Linked DNA regions of Homo sapiens: region 1 is linked to region 2. Evidence: promoter capture Hi-C in human tissues and cell types (Jung and others, 2019). All regions are on one chromosome and are shown on one strand. The core of a region is centred on a gene start or on the middle of the fragment in contact, and the rest is flanking DNA. Distances in the headings are between cores, read along the strand shown.

Region 1 (3,828 bases), core at 657-3,156, 320 kb after region 2:
TATCATGAACATTAAATGTCAAGAAAACGTAGCACAGGAAGCTTGTTACTTTCAATCATGCAGAACACTTTCCATGTCTTAAGATCTGTTTTAACTTGATAAGTGGGAAGACAGAGTTTTGCTTAACACCCTGTGTTGTAAATATTCCCAATGTCTACCTTCTGTTAGTAGTGAAAAGAAATAATTCACAGCATAGTTTCTAGATCAATAGAAATGCTGTAGATCTTAATGATTTACACTGTAGCTTTTCTTTTTATTTAAAAGAGATTATTTGTTTAAAGAAGACTAACTTTGCTGTCACTTTTGTTTTCTTTGTATAGAGAGGTCTTATTTTATTCTGTCTTGATAGTGGTGAGCTGTTTTGATTATTGTATGTGTGTGAAATGCCTTAATAAACACTTTGGACACAGAGCTCAACATTTAAAGACATTTTCCCCTCAACACTTTGAAGATATTATTCCATTGTCTTCGAAGATAAATTGTTGCTGAGATAAACTCTGCTTTTAATATGCTTGTTATTTCTCCATAGAAAATCTGTATATTCACTTTTAAATATTTTCAATATGTTTCATTATTTTTGTATGCTGATTGTAGATTCATTTTTATTAATGTTGCTTAGCACCTAATGGGCTTTGTCAAATTTTCGCCACTTCTTTCTCAATTTTGAAAAATTCTGAGCCATTATCTCTTTGATTATCACCTTCTCATCCTTTCTATTATCCTATTCTTTGAAGTTTATTATATGCTGCTGTTTCTTGATACAACTAATTTCTCTTTCATATGTCCTAATTTTGTTACACTCTGGAAATTTACATGATTTTATGTATTTATTTTAATTGATAATTTAAAATTATATATATTTATGGTATACAGCGTGATGTTTTAAAACATGCATACGTTATAGAATAGCAAAAATCAAGCTATTTAACATACACACCATCTCATACACTTGTTTTTTTGGGATAAAAGCAGTTAAAACCTATCTCAGCAATTTTTAAGTACACAATATATTATTAGCTATAGTGGCCATGTTGCATAGTCGATCTCTTAAACTTATTTTTCCTGTCTAACTGAAATTTTGTATCTTTTGACCAAGACCTCCCTAGTCTCCATCTCCTAACCCCCAAAACCTGGTAACCACCATTCTATTCTCTGCTTCTGTGAGTTTCACCTTTTTAGATTTCACGTATAAGTGAGAGGATGTGGTATTTGTTTCTGTGTCTGGTTTATTTCAATTAGCATAATTTCCTCTAGGTTCATCTATGTTTTCGAGAATAACAGGATTTCCTTCTTTTTTTAGGGTAGAATAGTATTTCATTGTGTGTATATACCGCATTTTCTTTATCCATTCATTTGCTGAAGGACAACAATTAGGTTGATCCCATATCATGGCAATTGAGGATAAGGCTGCAATGAACATGGAAGTGCAGATATCTCTTTGACATACTGATTTCATTTCTTTTGGATACATACCCACTAGTGGGCTTGCTGAATCATCAGGTAGTTCTATTTTTAATTTTTTGAGAAATCTCCATACTGTTTTCCATAATGGCTATGCTAATTTACATTTCTACCAACAATGTATAAGGATTCTCTTCTCTCTGTACCCTCACAAAACAGTTGTTATCTTTTCTCTATTTGAGAATAGCCATTCTAACAGGTGTGACGTGATATCTTATTTTGGTTTTAATTGCATTTCCTTGATGATTAGTGAGGTCGTGCATCTTTCTATATATTTGTTGGCTATTTACATGTCTTCTTTGGAGAAATGTCTACTCACAACCTTTGCGCATTTTTAAGTGTTTTTTTTTTGTTGTTGTTTGTTTGTTTGCTATTCAGTTGTTTGAATTCCTTACACATTTTGGATATTAACCCCTTATTAGAAATATGGTTTATAAATATTGTCCATTTTTTTAAGTTGTCTCTGCATTCTGTTGATTGTTTCCTTGGCAGTGAAAAAGGTTTTTAGTTTGATGTAATTTCATTTTTCTATTTTTGATTTTGTTGCCTGGGCTTTTATGGTCATTGCCAAAAACTCATTGCTTAGACCAATGTCATAAAGCTTTTCCTATGTGTTTTCTTCCAGTTATTTTACAGTTTCAGACCTTAAATTTTAGTCCTTAATTCATTTTCCATTGATTTTTTTAATATGGTATGAGATAAGGGTCTAATTTTCTTTTTCTTCACATCCAGTTTTCCCAATACCACTTTTAAAAATTTTATCTTTTCTCCAATATGTATTTTTAATATCATTATCAAAAGAGAATTGCATAGATTTATTTCTGGAGCCTCTATTCTGTTTCATTGGTCTATATGTCTGGTTTTGTGCCAGTACCTTGCTGTTTTGATTATTACAGCTTGTAACTGATTCTGATATTAGGTAGTGTGATGCCTCCAGCTTGTTCTTTTGCTCAAGATTTCTTCAGGTATTCCTAACCTTTCATGGCTTTGTACACATTTTAGGATTGTTTCTTCCATTTCTGAAAAAATGTCATTGGAATTTTGCTTTGGATCTATAGACTTCTTTGAGTAGTATGGACCTTCTTCCAATCCATGGAAACTGAGTATCTTTCCATTTATTTGTACCTAAATGTATTATCAAATGTACTAATTCTTTATTCAGCTATGTTTAATTTACTACTTATTTATTGATTTTTAAATGTAAAGGATTCTAATTTTCTAACATATTCTTAGCTCTTTTTACATGTTCATCTATTAGTTTACAATCTCTTGGCCATTTTATAGATGCCTTTTGAAAATTTTAAACGAATTCACTTTAAAGTGGCCTCAAATTACTTTAATACTCTGAATGTTTTTTCCATGTATAATTTTTCTACTCAAGGGTATGTTGACCTTTTTCATGGCAATAAACTTTTTTATTTGCTTTGCAGTGTTTGTTGTATAGCTCATTTTGCATTGTTTCCTAGCATGTTCATCCATTCCTGCCAGAACGTTACATGATGGATTCAGACCAGGATCTATGGAGAATACATCTCCAATTATAGTGTACTCCTTCTACTTATTTTTTTAAGTTAACTGTAAAACAGTCTTAAGCAGGTTCAGGAGGTATGCCACAAGAAGGCATTATTATCATAGGAGATGACAGTTCCATGCATGTTGATTGCGCCTGAAGACATTAAAGTGAAAAAAATATAAAGGTAGAAAACTGTGATATTATCTTGACTCTATGTAGGCCTAGGCTAATGTGTGTGTTTGTGTCTACTTTTTTAACAAAAAAGGTTAAAAAGTAAAATAAATAATTTTAAAAATGGAAGAATGCTTAAAGAAAATATTTTTGTACTGCTGTACATTGTGTTTGTGTTTTAAACTATTATTTTGAGAGTCAAAAAATTTAATTAAAATGTTTATACAATAAAAAAGTTACACTAAGCTAACTTATTATTGAAGAAAAAAGTGTTTTAGTAAATTGAGTGGAGACTGTACAATGTTTATAAAGTCTATAGTCATGTATAATAATGTCCTAGGCCTTTACGTTCACTCACCACTCATTCCCTGACTCACCCAGAGCAATTTGGTCCTTTTTGTCATTGGGATATAACGAAACAAATGAATTTGATAAAAAAATTGTTTCACAGAACATATTAAAATTGTAGTTATGAGTTCTGTTTTATTAAAATTGCAGTTATGAGTTCTGTTTTATTAAAATTGCAAGAGTTTTCATTCCAGAGTAGCTTTCTCCCATAGTAATTTATCTTCAGGGCTTTGGCTTAAATAGCTATAGCAGACATAAAATCTCAATGAAGTTTTATGCAAGGATTAGATAAAATAAATTATTCCAGATGATTATAGTTTTCAAATGATCTTCTT
Region 2 (3,810 bases), core at 783-3,282:
ATTTACAGTCTGTTCAGATGCTCTGGTTCTCACCTTTTCTGTGCACCAACATCATCTGAGATGTCCTTAGCACTGCAGATTCTTAAGGGCCCACTCGGGGAGTTTCAGCTAGTTTCAAGGTCTGGAATTTGAACTGGGAACTGGCCTTCTTAGAAAGCACCAAGAGGTGATTCTGATGCCCGAAGCCTATGAACCCACAGTTAAAAAATAAAACTTAGGGGCCAGGCACGGTGGCTCATGCCTGTAATCCCAGCAGTTTGGGAGGCTGAGGTGGGAGGATCATGAGGTCAGAAGATTGAGACCATCCTGGCTAACACGGTGAAACCCCATCTCTACTAAAAAACAAAAAAATAGCCAGCATGGTGGCACGTGCCTGTAATACCAGCTACTCAGGAGGCTGAGGCAGGAGAATCGCTTGAACCTGGGAGGTGGACGTTGCAGTGAGCCGAGATCACACCACTATGCTCCAGTCTGGGTGACAGAGCAAGACTCTGTCTCAAATAAAATAAAATAAAATAAAACTAAAAAGTAAATAAAACTTAGCTACATCAACAGAAATATTAATGAACTGGAGAAGACACAACACCATTCATTAATTCAATACCTGCTTGAGGATTGCTTGCTATGGAGAAGAATAACAAGGAGAAGAAGGTGGAGATGGGGCTTACCCCAAAAAGGGGAAGAAATCTAGACTTATGAGAGAATGAAAATGAAGAAAATGACTACCAGCAAAAGCACAAAGGCATGGAAGGACTCATCAACATCAAGAACCCCAAGCAGGTAGGATAGACAACCAGAAAGGTCAAACAAGTGGATCTGGACAGGCTAAAGGAGCTTTTAAGGAGAAAATGCACTAGCAGGAGAGACAGAGCAAGCCAAGGTGGGCCTTGCCTGGCTGGTGATCATCTGGAAACAGTGGGAGAAGGCTGCAAGGAAGAAGGAAGTGGAGAGGAAAGCAAAATATGGTGCCACATTGTTGGGAAAATGAACATGGTTGCTCCCCTTGAATAAATAAACGCCACCTGCAGGAGGAGAGGCCAGGGACCTGGGCCAGAACCTCTGCTGTGTCTCACCTACCCTGTGCCCTGGCTCCACTGCAGCAGCCCTTCAAGGCCAGAAGCCCCATGGCCTGGGACATCCTCTTCATCTTGGCACAGAAATTGTTTAGGGAGGTGTCTGGGGGCGAGTGGGGAGAGAGTGGAGGAGGGACAGCTGTCATCTCTGAGATAGAAAGGTGCAGGAAAGCATTTCATATGTAACAATTTGAATGTTTTTTGCTGTTTTTAGAATTCAGAACCCTTGTTGGAGTGCCTAAGAAGTGGGGTAAGAAGAGCTTCCATTTGTCTGCTAGATCACATGTTAGTGGGTGGTTGTGCCAGGAGGCAGCTGCTGAGGGGTTTGCAACAACCACCCTGGTCTGTGTGCCTGAATGCTTATTCAGAATGGGGCTGTCAGCTGCAGGCTCATGCCCTTGGGTCCCTGAGGGTCATGGCTTTGTCCCTGGCGAGTCCTCTCTGACCTGACTCAATGGAACGAAGGAAGAAAGGAGAATTGCCCAGATGCTTTCTTTGGGTGATGCTGTTTTTGTTAAATTTCTTCCCCAGAAGTCCCTGACTATCTTTCAGTGTCCAAAAATATAATATATAGCCAAACTTACGTGTTTTGAGTCTGAGAGATTAACTATTTTTTCTCTGGGCACATTGCTGCCCCAGATTAAATTGTTTCTTAGTTAGAAAAACAAATGAATAACTAGAGATTCTAGCAGCAGTGTCTGTCACTAAGCGCTAGCCTGAATTTGTTGATGATGCTGTGATTCTATGCTAATTTAATGTATATTACTTAAAAGAAATAGGGAGAGAGAGGCAAAATAGTGTCCTGTCAGAAACTATCAAAGAGAAGCATGTATGTGTAGAAAAAATTATGAAAGAAGTGGTTTTTCTTAGGAAAATCTTACCTTTTTTCTACATGTCCCAGTCCCTACCAGATGTTCCCTTTTGTCTGCCTAGAGACCTGCCAGATTTCTCCAAATAATCCTGACTTCCTGGATACACCCACATAGAAACAGGTCGGGTTCTAGAAGAATTTGTCTGCTCCATGTTCCATCAGAATCAGATTATCTCATTATTTTGGAACAAGTTAATCTGCTGCAGATGAATTAATGAATGCTGCTGAGTTAGCTATTATCATTTTTTTCCTACATATTCTTAAAGGTATGTTTTAACCCAAAGACCCATAGTGACCAATGGCTCACTCTATGGCTGAGCTACACTTTAATTATCACTGTGCGTCAGGTTCCATACATATAAAAATAAACCTAATATTTAATTCAAAGTCATTTGTGAGGGGTTGGGACACCTGAGAATTTTGGATAATGATCATGAACATAGAGTCCAGATTCAAACCAAATGGCTTCAAATTCCTACTCAAACACTAGTATATGACATTAGATGCATTATTTAATATATCCAAACATTAGTTTCCTCACTTGAAAATTGGGATGATAATAGTATGTTCTAACTATACTGTTGTGAGATGAACAAAATAAATGAAATCACGCTCATAAAGAACTTAGGATAGTGCTTGGTATGAAGCAAGTGATCAGCGGATGTCAGCTTTTATTAGCAGTATTTAAGTATAGTTATTTGCAACCAAAAAGTGCTTAGCGATATCAGTTATCATCTTCTACAAATTATAGGAGACCACAGCTTCTGAGATAATTTTATTTTATTTTACATATAGTAAGCTATATACTATTTCAAATAAGTAAAGTCTTTCTCTTCGCAGACTCTAATTGCAGAGTCTAATTTGATTCTTATTTGGTCATCTAATAGCTCTTTGTTCCAAACTGGGGTTTTTATATATAAGGGGTTCAGTGATATACTACTAAAGACAATGTTGATTTTTTTGCATAAAGGAATTCAATAGCAGAAATGCATTTTAATATAATAAATTAAATCTTACAACTTTAATCAATGAATTTTCATATATAAAAATGACCATAAATTATATAAATAACTGCAGTGCTTAGCCAGTATTCAAACTGTAGGTTTCAGAAATCTTGTTTGAAAGCTTAAAATATAGGGCAGTTATGATATGGTATTTGGAGACGATACAGGGTGTGATATAAAGGTTCGACTACAAGGCTAATGTTATAAACTGGTCACATTTTGAACTGCAAATTCTGGTGACTTAATTATTTTTCCAAGAGTTTGCCAAAGTCAATAAAGAACAATTAGCTCAACATCTATGAACTTAAAAAGGACTTAGACATTCTGCTATATTAAAAAGACTAAATGCAGTACTTATCTTGGTGTGTTTCTTGTTTCTACTCTGGGAAGATTAAAAAACAGATAACTTTAGAAATTACAGACCTGTCAGCATCAGTATTTAGTTGAAAACTTACTGAAACATATCATCAAAAAATCAATTTTCAAGCACCTAGAAAATCATGAGTTACTGGGTAAAATCTCCTTGGCACTGTGAAAAATAAATCCTGTCAAATCAACTTAATTTCCTTCCACGACAGAGTGACAAAAACAGTAGACACAGAGAACTGGATAGACAAAATATATCCTGACCAAAGTCAGGCAAATTCCACATAACACAGAGAGAAAATACAGTTTGGGTGACATTTTGTCTTTATTAAGTACTCCTATTGAATAACTATGCTGAACATATCTGGAAGTGATACTCAGCTGGAATATTGAACATGTAAGGTGACTGGTTAGATATAAAGATGAGAGCATTCAAGACCAAGTTGTGGCAGGGCTGATTCTCACTATTTTAAACAAAATATTATCGGTAATTATG

Evidence for each region. Contacts are between HindIII fragments. The study calls those that stand out against the background at their distance.
Region 1: a fragment that was not itself captured here is called in contact with the fragment with the promoter of XIRP2 in region 2 in 1 of the 25 tissues and cell types used here (mesendoderm cells).

What each region holds. Positions count from the first base shown.
Region 1 is chr2:166,564,799-166,568,626 of GRCh38, reverse strand. No RefSeq gene overlaps it. Among named protein-coding and RNA genes, the nearest start is that of SCN7A, 72 kb to the right of the region's middle. The HindIII fragment of the contact is 4,250 bases long and covers 1-3,828 here.
Region 2 is chr2:166,886,702-166,890,511 of GRCh38, reverse strand. It overlaps XIRP2 (xin actin binding repeat containing 2), which reads right to left and starts at 2,032. Exons shown (of 11, transcript NM_152381.6): 1 at 1,955-2,032. The HindIII fragment of the contact is 6,044 bases long and covers 1-3,712 here.